Linked DNA regions of Homo sapiens: region 1 is linked to region 2. Evidence: promoter capture Hi-C in 16 types of primary human blood cells and fetal thymus (Javierre and others, 2016). All regions are on one chromosome and are shown on one strand. The core of a region is centred on a gene start or on the middle of the fragment in contact, and the rest is flanking DNA. Distances in the headings are between cores, read along the strand shown. Region 1 has its middle 130 kb from the start of CAPZA3. Region 2 holds the start of PLEKHA5 (pleckstrin homology domain containing A5).

What was found. The method cuts DNA at HindIII sites, captures the fragments that hold promoters and counts their contacts. A CHiCAGO score of 5 or more calls a contact.
Region 1: a fragment that was not itself captured here is called in contact with the fragment with the promoter of PLEKHA5 in region 2 in 3 of 17 cell types (M2 macrophages, M0 macrophages and megakaryocytes); the score reaches 7.5 in M2 macrophages.

The regions. Positions count from the first base shown.
Region 1 is chr12:18,864,002-18,869,565 of GRCh38, forward strand. No RefSeq gene overlaps it. Among named protein-coding and RNA genes, the nearest start is that of CAPZA3, 130 kb to the left of the region's middle. The HindIII fragment of the contact is 1,697 bases long and covers 2,627-4,323 here.
Region 2 is chr12:19,127,682-19,133,809 of GRCh38, forward strand. PLEKHA5 (pleckstrin homology domain containing A5) reads left to right here and starts at 2,052. Exons shown (of 32, transcript NM_001256470.2): 1 at 2,052-2,207; 2 at 2,370-2,449; 3 at 4,712-4,769. The coding sequence starts at 2,119. The HindIII fragment of the contact is 7,873 bases long and covers 1-6,128 here.

The sequences.
Region 1 (5,564 bases), core at 2,225-4,724, 260 kb before region 2:
ATATATTCAGATACTAATCCTTTGTTAGTTAAATACATTGAAATACCTTCTTACATTGTGTCTTTGTCTTAGGAAAGTTTTACGTTTTAACATAGTCAAAATTTCTTCCTTTATGTTTTGAGTTTTTGTCTTTTTTAAAGAGATACTCACTATGAAAAAATTACATATAACATTTTTCCATATTTCTTCTAAATGGTTTCCATTTTTATGTTCACATTTAGTTCCTTAATGCATTTGGAATTGACCTATGAGCTCTGTATGGTTGGGATCCTCTGGGGGAAGGGAGAGTGGGTAAAAGCAAGAGTTAGAAGCATTTCTTAAGAGAAGCATTTCTTTAGAAGCATTCACTCCACACCAACATACTGACCGTGAAAAACGTTTTTATGAAGAATGTTAATTACCTCTCTCAGAACACCTAATTTTCTGCAGAGCATAGTTTAGGAAATTCTGAAACCAGTGAATTCTATCTAAATTTTGAAAGACAGGAGGGAAACCAACAATTCAGTGACCCCTAAGTGAAAAACATTATGTTAGTTTAGGTATGTTCCCGTAACTCATTTCATCCTCAAAAAAAAAAAAAAAAAAAAAAACTAAACTAATATTATTAATCCCATTGTACAGGTTCCTAAGATCATATGGCTAATGAACTGTGAAAATCAAATTTGAGGCCAGATTTCTCTGCCTTCAAAATCCATTTCCTTCCATTTTCTTCCCACTACAAAATCATTTAGTATATTGTAAGGCTGAAGCACAAATTAATACATTAGGATTTTAAGACAAAGTGAGAACCAGAAAAGAGAGAAGGAGGCTCTGGTAGAAGGTAATGGCTACTTGCTTTTAAATACATAAGCAAACTACATCTCTTTAAGTGTCACCTAGACTGTATGATTATTTTGAAGTTAAAAACATGTGCTAGGATTCAAGTTATATAGACCTGAGTTTAAACCTGCTTATACCAAGCAAGCTATTTTCCTAACCTCAGTAAAAGGGGGATAATAACAGCTACTACACAAGACTGCTGGGTGGATTACATGAGTTACATGGAAAAGGCATCCAGCACTCTGTTTGATACGTAATAGACCCTGAAATGTTAGTTCCTTTAAACCTCAATTGTATACATATGTATCCAGAAACCTTCACAGGGTCTCTACAGCCTGAAGAATACTGGAAGCCATCGTCTGCTCTTGCTTTCCTTTTGTTTTCTTCTCTGTTTCTTCTCTGCCTCTGCCTCAGGCAACACTTTGTTGGTAATACTGGACCCACTGTATAACCAGGTATCCTGTTATTAATTATGACTAGGTTCAGCCCAGTGGAGCTAAATTACTTTCATAAGGCCAAATCAGCACCAGAATGAGTCACCAACACACTGAGACAGTTTTCCTCCTCCCCCAGGGTTTGCTCCACAGTGGACACAGCTGCCTTCGGGTTCTTAGAGGTTAGAGGGTTACTGAAGAGTGACTGAGAGTGACCTCGGATATCTTGTTGCTTGCCCTCCTGCAGCATCCCATAAATGAACAAGTTGGCATCCATCGGGAATTAGCTGGGTCATACCAGGACAAGGAAAAATGTTATATTGATTCTGTCTCTGGTTCTACTCAAACCTGCTTCTTTCCTGTAAATTTCTCTCTCATTCTTTCTTTCTCTCAGTTCTCTTTTTTAAATGTTTCTCCCCTCCATCTGGTATTTTCCTTCTCTTCGTTCTCCCCTGTGACATCTGCCATCTCCACCCTATTCCCATTCTCCTCCTCATCTCCTCCTTCTTTCTTGTTCTGTTCAAAAATAATAATAATAACAACAACCATAATAAGTAGTTGCCTGCTGATTGTACTGCAGGAACATAGACTGCTTCCATTCGTGATCACAGGTGGCTTCCCAAGTCCCGCCAGCCTGGCGGCTGAATTTTTGGGTCATAGTGAGGCAGGTAGGTAGGAGGGTGTGAGTGATAAAATGTCCAGTACAGTCAAATGCATTGTAGCTCCTTACATTTATGTTGCTAATGCACTCCAAGCCAATCACAATAAAGTTTCCAATGGAAAATCATCAAATTCAGTCTATAGAGATTAAGACTGTGACATCATCTCCTGATTTTATATCTACCCAGCTTTTGTTCTATGAATAAACAGGCTTCTGCTTTTCATATCTGTGAAAAACAGATACGCTAAAAATTATACAGGGATGCCCAGGGAAGCCTGCATCTACCCAGACAAATTGTCTAGTGGAGATACCCAAAGTAGTTAATGCAGGAGTGGAAGTTCTTACTTTTTCATACATAGCAATTTAAGAACTGACTCACATATAATTATCTCAAACTCTACTTAATTCTTCCTATGATTTTTACGTTACTCTTCTAAATTGTATTTACTCAATATTTTTATTGAAATCCTATTTTTCTTAACATATTTGTATATGCGTTTTTGTTGTAAGTCATTTCAAATCTTTTATGGAACAGCATGAGTTTTAAAAAAGAAAAACAAATAAATGAAGCAATAACTTCTGCCTTTATCCAATCATCTATACCATATGTCTTGATGTGTAATCTGACTTTTAGCTCAGATTTTTTTCATGTTAGCACTTCATTTGACCTCATAAGAGTATCTCATTTAAGAATATTAATAGAAGATGTACAAGCTTCATTTTACCAGGGTTATACAAGCAGTCTTAATTTAAATTCTATATGTGAAGAATAGATTTAGAAAAACATCAACACAAAGTGGATATCTATAAGACACTATTCTAAGCTAAGTATTCTGGCTTTAAAATTCTTGTTTTGACATAAACTATCCAGGTGTAGTATTTCAAACCAAGATTAAAGGCATGAATAAAGCAAGCATTAATTGTCAGCCTAGCCTCTATTAGTTATGACCAGTCCTCAAGGACTCTGTTATTAATAATGAAATTCTTAACAAGGAAAAAAGTTTCCTCACAACCTGGTTTCTCCTGGTTTCTATTGTTCATGGAAACTCTGATCTAGAAAATTCATCAGTATTTGTGAACTAAAGCAGAGAATTGTTTACTTATATCTCTCTCTTCTATGTTCATAAGGGTTAGAGAATCCTTTTCACCATAGTGCCCCCCAGCATCTAGCAATGTCTCCGTCACGAAGAAGGCCATGGACTCTGCACTCAGGGTATCTGATTATAATCCTAGCACCGCCATTTGTCATCTGTACACTGGAGAGCAACCTGCTTAAACTCTCTGTGCATTAGCTTTTTCATCATACAGAAAATGTAACCATTCTTAGAAATTAAAACAATGCATGGCTTATAGAAAATATTCAAATATTCAAAAATATTCAAAATGTAAACATATGGGTGGAAAAATTAAACATTTATGTAACTACATAATGACATTTCTTAATTGCATTTGTGAATCTCTGAAATTCTCAGATATAGATGCTTGGGGAAAGGTCCTTATTAGCGACTACTAGTTACTCCAGCTGACATGATCAACTGGTTGATGACACCCTTCCCAGGCATGAGAGTGCTGCCAGAAACTAATCAGTGGCAAGAGTTGTGTCTCTTAAATTCAAGCCTACTCCAGCCATGGCAAGAGTCCCAAAAATAACAGCTTCTAATTGCATTTCATAATCAACTGGGTTCTTTATATGGACAATACACACACAGAGAGACAGAGACACAGAGAGAGAGAACAGCAACATAACCAAAAGGATAGGTTTACCATCAGTCCTATATTGGGATTCCCCATTCTTCTATTCATTAATTAAGTGTCCTTGGGAAAGTTAAACTCATTAAGCCTCAACTTTCCCTTGTAAAATGGGAATAATATCTACTTTGAGGACTGGTAATTATAAAAATAAATGAAACAATGTATGTAAATAACCTATAGTTTGTTTGTTTGTTTGTTTGTTTTTTGAGACCGTCTTGCTCTGTCACCCAGGCTGGAGTGCAATGGCGCCCTAGTGTTTCATACATATGAAGTATTTACTAAGTAGGAGCTACTGTTATTATTATTATCATTGACATCGTCATTACCCCAAATTCTGAGAAAGTTTTCATTAAGAGGGAGACATAACATTGGTTACAAAATAATCTTATTTTACTTATGAAGAAAAAAAGTTTAGCAATCTTAATCCTTAATGGAATTTCTGATGTTACAATTGCCACCTAGCATTCCCTAAAATTTAAAAAGTTGATAAGTTCACATTCGTTTGTATTGTGGATAAAAGTTCAAAGTACTAATTAGATAAGAGGGTGCCCTGATTCTTCCAGATGACTGGGTCAGAGTGACTGGTTGTTTGGGTGGTGTTATTATTAATAATGGCAATAATTATTTAGCCCTTTAATGTCCCGTAATTGCAAGTGAAGCTTCCACTAAAATGCCACATCAAAAACATTTTTTTTTTTTTGCTTATGCATTCAGTTTCTTTGTTCACCCCAAGCACAGTCTATAGGTATCAGTATACATAATGATCCTTCTCTTCATGCACCTTTTGCTTTGAACAATTCCTTCCAGTACATTTGGTTGGAAGGTAATAGGCCTGTATAATATTTCTAAGGAAGGGGAGGGAAGGGATTTACAGGGAGGAGTTGAAGGATGTCAGTACAGCCAACCCAAAGGAAAGTGGGGTAAAGGAGATTTTATTTGCAGCCTAAGATCTTATAAAAGATTTCTTTGTCTGAGTGTGTTGAAGAAGGGCACCTTGGCCCTTTAAGGGAATCTAACAGGCAATGTGAGGACAAGTCAAAAAAAAAAAGCACAAGTGAATCTCATCCAGAAGTAAATATCTGAATATAAAAGAGGCCAAGCTAGGCTGTACAGAAGTATATAAAGGATATGTACTGTAATCAAGTCTTCCTGGATATTTTCCAGGCTCAATTCTGTGTTATTGTGGTAGTAATTTCATTAGTCATTTCTGTAACTACGACTTTGATACTCACTCAGTGTACAACTATTTTTTTAAGCCAACCTACACTAGTTCCTTATTTCAGTTTGCAAATTTTTTTTAGTAAGTTTTCGACTTCTGGTTTGAAGATTTAGTCTCTGAGTAAAATTCTTAAAGACTGTTCAGATGCTTTGACAGCCAAAAATGCTTTACTTTTATCTGTCATCAAAGCAGCAAGATATACTAGCATCCTGTTTTCAATGTGTATTAACTTCATTCAATAAGTCTTTCACTTAATGTGTTCTTCCTGGATGTCTACGAGTGTCTATGACTGTCACTATGCATGAAACCAAGCCTAATATGACCTTTGCCCTACTATCCCAAGGCTGAAGCTTTTCCTGCGAGTCTTGATATTTTCAGAAATGCATAATGTCTTCTTGCCAACTACTTTGAACATTGTTCACCTGGCGCGAGTTGGAGACACTTTCAATCATTCTTCATCACTCTGACCCAGACTGTCAGAGTGAATAAAGCACAAGGGAAGAAATGACAGAGACAGTTTTAGAAGCCGGGGCTCCAAAATGAGGATGAGAGAACTGAAGTACTGCCGTAGATAATTCAGTCACTGACTCCCTTTCCTGTTAAATACCCATGGGATTTGGAAGTCCTACAGAGTCTTGAAAACTCTCGTTTTTAAAGTGGTCCAATAAAGTCATTCACA
Region 2 (6,128 bases), core at 802-3,301:
TTTGAAGCCAGGCATTGACTTTTCCTCTCTAGCAGTGAAAGTCCTAGATGGCATCTTCTTTCAATAGTAGGCTGTTTTGTCTACATTGAAAATATGTTTAGTGTATCCACCTTCAATGATCTTGACTAGATTTTCTGGATAACTTGCTGCAGCTTCTACATCATTTGCTGCTTCATCTTGCACTATTATGTTACGGAGATGGTGTTTTTCCTTAAATCCCTGATAGCTTCAACCTTTTCTTCTGCAGCTTCCTCAGCTCTCTCAACCTTCATAAGATTGAAGAGAGTTAGAGCCTTGCTCTGGATTAGGCTTTGGCTAAAGGGAATGTTGTAGCTAGGTTGATCTTCTCCCCAGACCACTAAAATTTTCTCCCTATCTGCAATGAGGCTGTTTTGTTTTCTTATAATTCATGTTTTCACCAGAGTAGCATTTTCAATTTCCTTCAAGAACATTTCCTTTGCATTCCCAACTTGTCTAATTATTTGACACAAGGCCGAGCTTTTGGCCTCTCTTGGCTGTTGATACATCTGAGCTTAATCGTTTCTAGCTTTTCATTTAAAGTAAGGGACATGCAACTCTTCCTTTCACTTGGTCACTTAAAGGGCATTGTAGGGTTACTGGTTGGCCTAATTTCAATATTAGGCCATTATTATTAGACAATTATTAGTGTTTCATTTCAGGGAATATGGAGGCCCAAGATGAAGCAGAGAGACAGAGGAACAGCTGGTTGGTGGAGCAGTCAGAACACACACATTTATTAAGTCCCTGTCTTACATGGGCTCAGTTCATGGTGCCCTCAAAACAATTTCAACAGTAACATCAAAGATCACTGATTACAGATCACTATAACAGGTACAATAATGAAAAAGTTTGAAAGATTGCAAGAATTACCAAAATGTGCCACAGAGACATGTAGTGAGCAAATGCTGTTGAAAAACGGTGCTAGGACTTGCTTAATGCAGAGTTGCCACAAACCTTCAATTTGTAAGATGTGAAAGATCTGCAAACAGCAATAAAGTGAATCGCAGTAAAACAAAGTGGGCTTGTACAGCAAGGAGGTTATACAAATATACTTTTGAAATCCTACAGCCAGTTTGAATCCAGGCTTTGGCAGTTATTACTATGACTGGGCAAACTACTGTGTTTTTAAACTTCATTTTTCCTATCTGTAAAATGGGGATTTTTTATAGATTGTGTGTGTGTGTGTATATATACACACACACACACACATATATATATATACACACATATATATATAGTTGTTGTGAAGATTTAAAAATGTACACCGTCACAAGGACTCCATAAAATAAGCTATTATTGTAATCTATTGGAGACAGGGCAAGTAAAAATCCACACTGATGTTAAGTGAATCTTTAAAAACAAGTACCAGAAAAAGACGAGTTTTTATTTTATAAGATATGACCTAAGGGGCCTAGGAAGAGAAAAAACTTGTTTTGTCAAGTCTAAATCCACTCATATTTCATGGGGCCACGTATCACGTCCAACCTTTGATATCTGGCACACAACAAACAAACAGGAAAGGCCTTTCGTGTGCTTTAATAAAAACAGCTTTCCATTTTAAAACGATAAATATATTGGAAAAATCTGTTGGCTCTCCAACAGCTCTTATAAAACAAAGCTCAGACGCTGTGTTTTTGTTGTTTGAAAGAGAGAAATCAGGGGCTTGGGCATTATTAGGCTCCCTTTGATCGCGCCCTGGGATGGGAAGCCTTCGGGCAAAGCCCTGGGGGCAGGACGCGTTTTTTTTTTTTTTTTTTTTTTTTTTTAATCGATCCCGGAACCTTCGCGCGGCGGAGGGGGCGGGCGCGCCGCAGGGGCCCGAGGGAGGGGTCTGGGGCGCGGCGCCGCTTGCCCATCCCCCGAGCGCGCGGCGGGGCGGCCGGCCGGCGGCCGCCGGGATGCGGAGGGGCGGCGACGGGGGCCGGACCCTGCCGGGGCGGCGGGGCGGGCACCGCCCGAGGGGGTAGGGCGCGCGCGGGGGCGCGCCGGGCCGGGGAGGCGCGCTCGCTCCGCGCTCCCTTCGCTCGCTCGTTCCCTCCTCCCTCGGCAGCCGCGGCGGCAGCAGGAGAAGGCGGCGGCGGCGGCTAGGGATCAGACATGGCGGCGGATCTGAACCTGGAGTGGATCTCCCTGCCCCGGTCCTGGACTTACGGGATCACCAGGGGCGGCCGAGTCTTCTTCATCAAGTAAAGAGCCGGGGACGGCACGGGGGCCCGCGGGGGCGGGAGGGCAGGAGGCGGGCGGCTGGCGACACGGGGGAGAGCCCGGGTCTGTGCTCCTGCAGCCCCTCGGCTCGCCCCCGCGTCCCCTCTCACGCTCCGTGTCTGCCCCTTCTCTCACCCCTGCAGCGAGGAGGCCAAGAGCACCACCTGGCTGCACCCCGTCACCGGCGAGGCGGTGGTCACCGGACACCGGCGGCAGAGCACAGGTAACGCCGGGCCCAAACGGAGTTGGGCTCCGCCTGGAGGAGGCGGCAGAGCCCGGGCCGCCCGGCTCCCCGCAACCTGCCCCGCGCCGCGGGCCCCGGGAGGCGGCGAGGCGGGGCGGAGGCCGGGCGGGAGCGGCCGCAGGTAGAGGGGCCACGGGGACTCCGCCGCCGGGAGTTCTCTCCAGTCTCGGGGCGCCTCTTTCTCCTCAGCCTTTCATCAGCACTTGGAGACGGCGCCCTCTTCCTGCGCCTTCTCCCCCCATCCCAGCCTAGACGACCCTCGCGACCCTAGAGTGGCGACGCTCCCCTCCCTGAAACCTGGAGTCCTGAGTTTTTCCTCCGCGGCCGCTACTCACTCCCCGGTGACCCCCAGCTGCCGTCTTGCCCCCCAGCAATCTTCAGGCAGTCCTTACCCACTCCCCTCCCTGCAGCCCCGGACCCCGATCGCCCGCCGGGATAACGTAACCACATCCTCCCCCTCCTCCCAGGAGCGCTGCCTCCTGCCGTGCAGCTTCCTCCTCCTAGGTGGGACTTGTGGGTAGGTGGCTGATGAAGGAGGAGGAGGAGGAGGAGAGGAGTTCGGGGGTGCTGCGATCCTCTCTGTGACAGGGAACGGCTCGGGAAACGCTTGGCGCGTTCCCTCCTGCCACGGGAGGAGCAGCCGGAGCCGGAGGAGGCGTTCGCAGCCTCAGTTGCTGGCGATCCGGATCTAAAGTCCCCGCCAGCCGCACGGAGGTTGCACAGACTGCCAGGAGGCGGTGGGCGTGCGAGGGGGTGTCCCGTATGGGGGCACCCGGGCCCTGTTTGGAGGGAGTCCGTGGGGAAGCGGCTCTCTCGGGTGGCTTTGGGAGCTTGTTTGAATGCTAAGTGTGAGTGGAGCTGGAAAAGGCTCCTCGTAGTTTCTGTACTGGTCTGGGTTTCTTTTATCATTCTTTGTTTACATTCGTGACTTGTTTGTCTTTGAAATGTAACATGTGTTCTCTTACTGGCCTGCCTCTAGTCCTGGTGATTGGAAAGGCTTGAGAGCAGTTTGGGTCGAAGGCGAGGCCAGTTTCAGCAGTCCTCAGAGCTGGCCTCTGGGGTACATTCTCTCGGACTCTGACATTCCGTGAATCTGTTAAAGTTGCCAGGATATTGAACAAACCTGCCTCTCTGTGAAATGCTGGAGTTCACTGAAGTGACTAATGTCTCCAAATTTGCAAAAAGGTGGAGGAAGAAAGGAAAGGCTGGTGTAGCAAGCATGATGAGCTTACATTTTTAAGGCATTTCTGACTAATACACTATCATGTTTCTCAATTCCCCGGTGCAGGCTTTTGCTTCAATATACCTTTCTGGTGTTTTACACGCATATTCCAACTTTGATGGCCTCTTTGCTTTTATGGATAATGATAGATTTATTTCATGAAAGACGATATGACATTTAAATTATTTAGACTAATTATCCTATGGAATTATGAGTGATATAAATAAGTGTCCTAGTTAACCCCACAGATTTGGTAACATTCACGCCACAGAAAAATTTTATTCTTTTATGTGATTTCACTTTTTTTTTTTTCTGGTTTGGTTTTACTTTGCTTGGACTCTGGTTTTGTACACACATCGGTTGTTTTTACTTCCAAGAGGCATTTTGATGAAATCCAAACAACTTGTCATTAATAATAATATGTAGCACATAATGACCATTGTTCACCTGAATCATCCCCAACTTTACTACTTGAAACTTCACGTCTCTTAGTCAAATTTTTAGAAACACACACGGAAGTATTCGGTGTCATTTCTTTTCCATTAATTAAGTAGTTAGGAAGTTCTGCCTTCTTTTTGGTGACACTTCCTAGATGGATTCATTTGTGTAGCTGAAAAATACGGTCTTAAATAGACACAATATACCCAAGAAGAGGCAGGCGTTGCCTGTTATACCCAGCTTTTTTTTTTGCTAGTCATTCATGAGTGTTCCACCTGGGATGAGAAGGCTTCCCTTTGCTTTCTTGGGTGCCAGAACATAGTTCCTCTCCACCCTAATATATTACAGTGTGTGCTCAGGTCAGATAATCTCTAATATTATGGTTACTTTTCTGGTGGCTCTAAATTTGAATTGCTGTTTTTCAAAAAATGATATCTGTTGTATTGCCAGCTCAACACTTTTTTTGTTAGTAATCTACTTAATTAAAACAGCTAATAAATGAAAATGGATAATTAAAATGGATTGAGACTTATTTTGCTATCATTGAAGTAATACTAATTGTAATATATGTATTGTTTTAGATTTGCCTACTGGCTGGGAAGAAGCATATACTTTTGAAGGTGCAAGATACTATATAAAGTGAGTTTTTTGACTTTCATTTTTTTCCTTCGTAATTAGAATGCTGTGATTACTCCTCAGCTGAATAGTTGTATGTCCAGTCTTGATCATGATTTTCTGAAGTTTATCATATAATGGTGACTGTATTCTTTATTTTGTATAGTGTCAGAATTTTGAGAGAAGAAAATGGCACTCTTACTTTTCTAATGTTATTTGCCTGGAATATTCATCGATTCATTGATTTGGAAATTAGATCATTTATGGCCACTTTTAAAAATAATTTTGTATCTTCGTTTTTTTCTTTTGGAATCGTCCAGCTTCATCAGAATATGACCACAATTACCTTTTTTTTTTTTTTTTTTTGGTGCTTCTGTGTATATTCCTGGGTAATAGAGGATTATTGGTCATTAGCTATGTGGTACTTAAAGTTTTGATCTTTGATTATCTGTGCTGAGAGATAACAAACAAAAAAAAATCTGAGTTACGTGAACATCTTTTTTTTTTTTTTTTTTTTAGTGAACCTTGTTCATGTATATTTTGACCAGGGCTGTTTATAGGTAGCAAAAGTGATGTAAAGCTAGGCACAATTTGATAAACAATGACGGTCAGGGAGTAAAAATAGAAATAGTTACTGAATATTTCATGAGCATATATTGGAGCATTGTTTGTATTTTTGCCTCAGTTTATTTAAATATGTCTAAGTCAAGATGTTTTATTGATATGTTTGTTTAAAAAAGGCTTTTAGTAGAGCTTGAGAGAAAAGATGACCAGTCAGTCCCAATCTTAAAACCAGTTCTTTAGAATATTAAACTAATTTATGTTCAAACTTAATAACTTAGTACTACTTGGAGACAAATACAAAGCTGGAGGTCAACATCATGTAGGAAAAATTTTAATCCCCCAACGAAAAATATGGGTGGTTTTGTCTTTTTATTTTTATATTAGAAACTATTTACCTAAGAGTTTGTTTTTATTGTTTAACCTTATTTGTTCTTTAATTTTAATAAACTGAGACATGAAAGAGAATGCTGAAATGCCAAACTGGGTTAAGACTTCAGTAGTTTATAAACAATAACAGATACCTAGCTAAAGTTACCTTTATTTCATTGAGCCTAGAAAGTTATTTTTACTGTGACATTTTTAAGATCATGTTATACTTCCAGTAAATTATAATTACCTGTATGGTTCTTTAATCTTTTAGAAAGATACTTAGATAAAACGTCAAGGGCTTTTTTATAAGTATTAGGAATGCTTGCTTTTGGATGTAGAAATAGAGAAAGCAGAAGATACAGGAATGGAATAGTTTCATGGTATGGTCTTTCTGTGAATATTTTTGGGTGAAATCTTTTCTTTGGAGATTATACTATACATTATTAGATG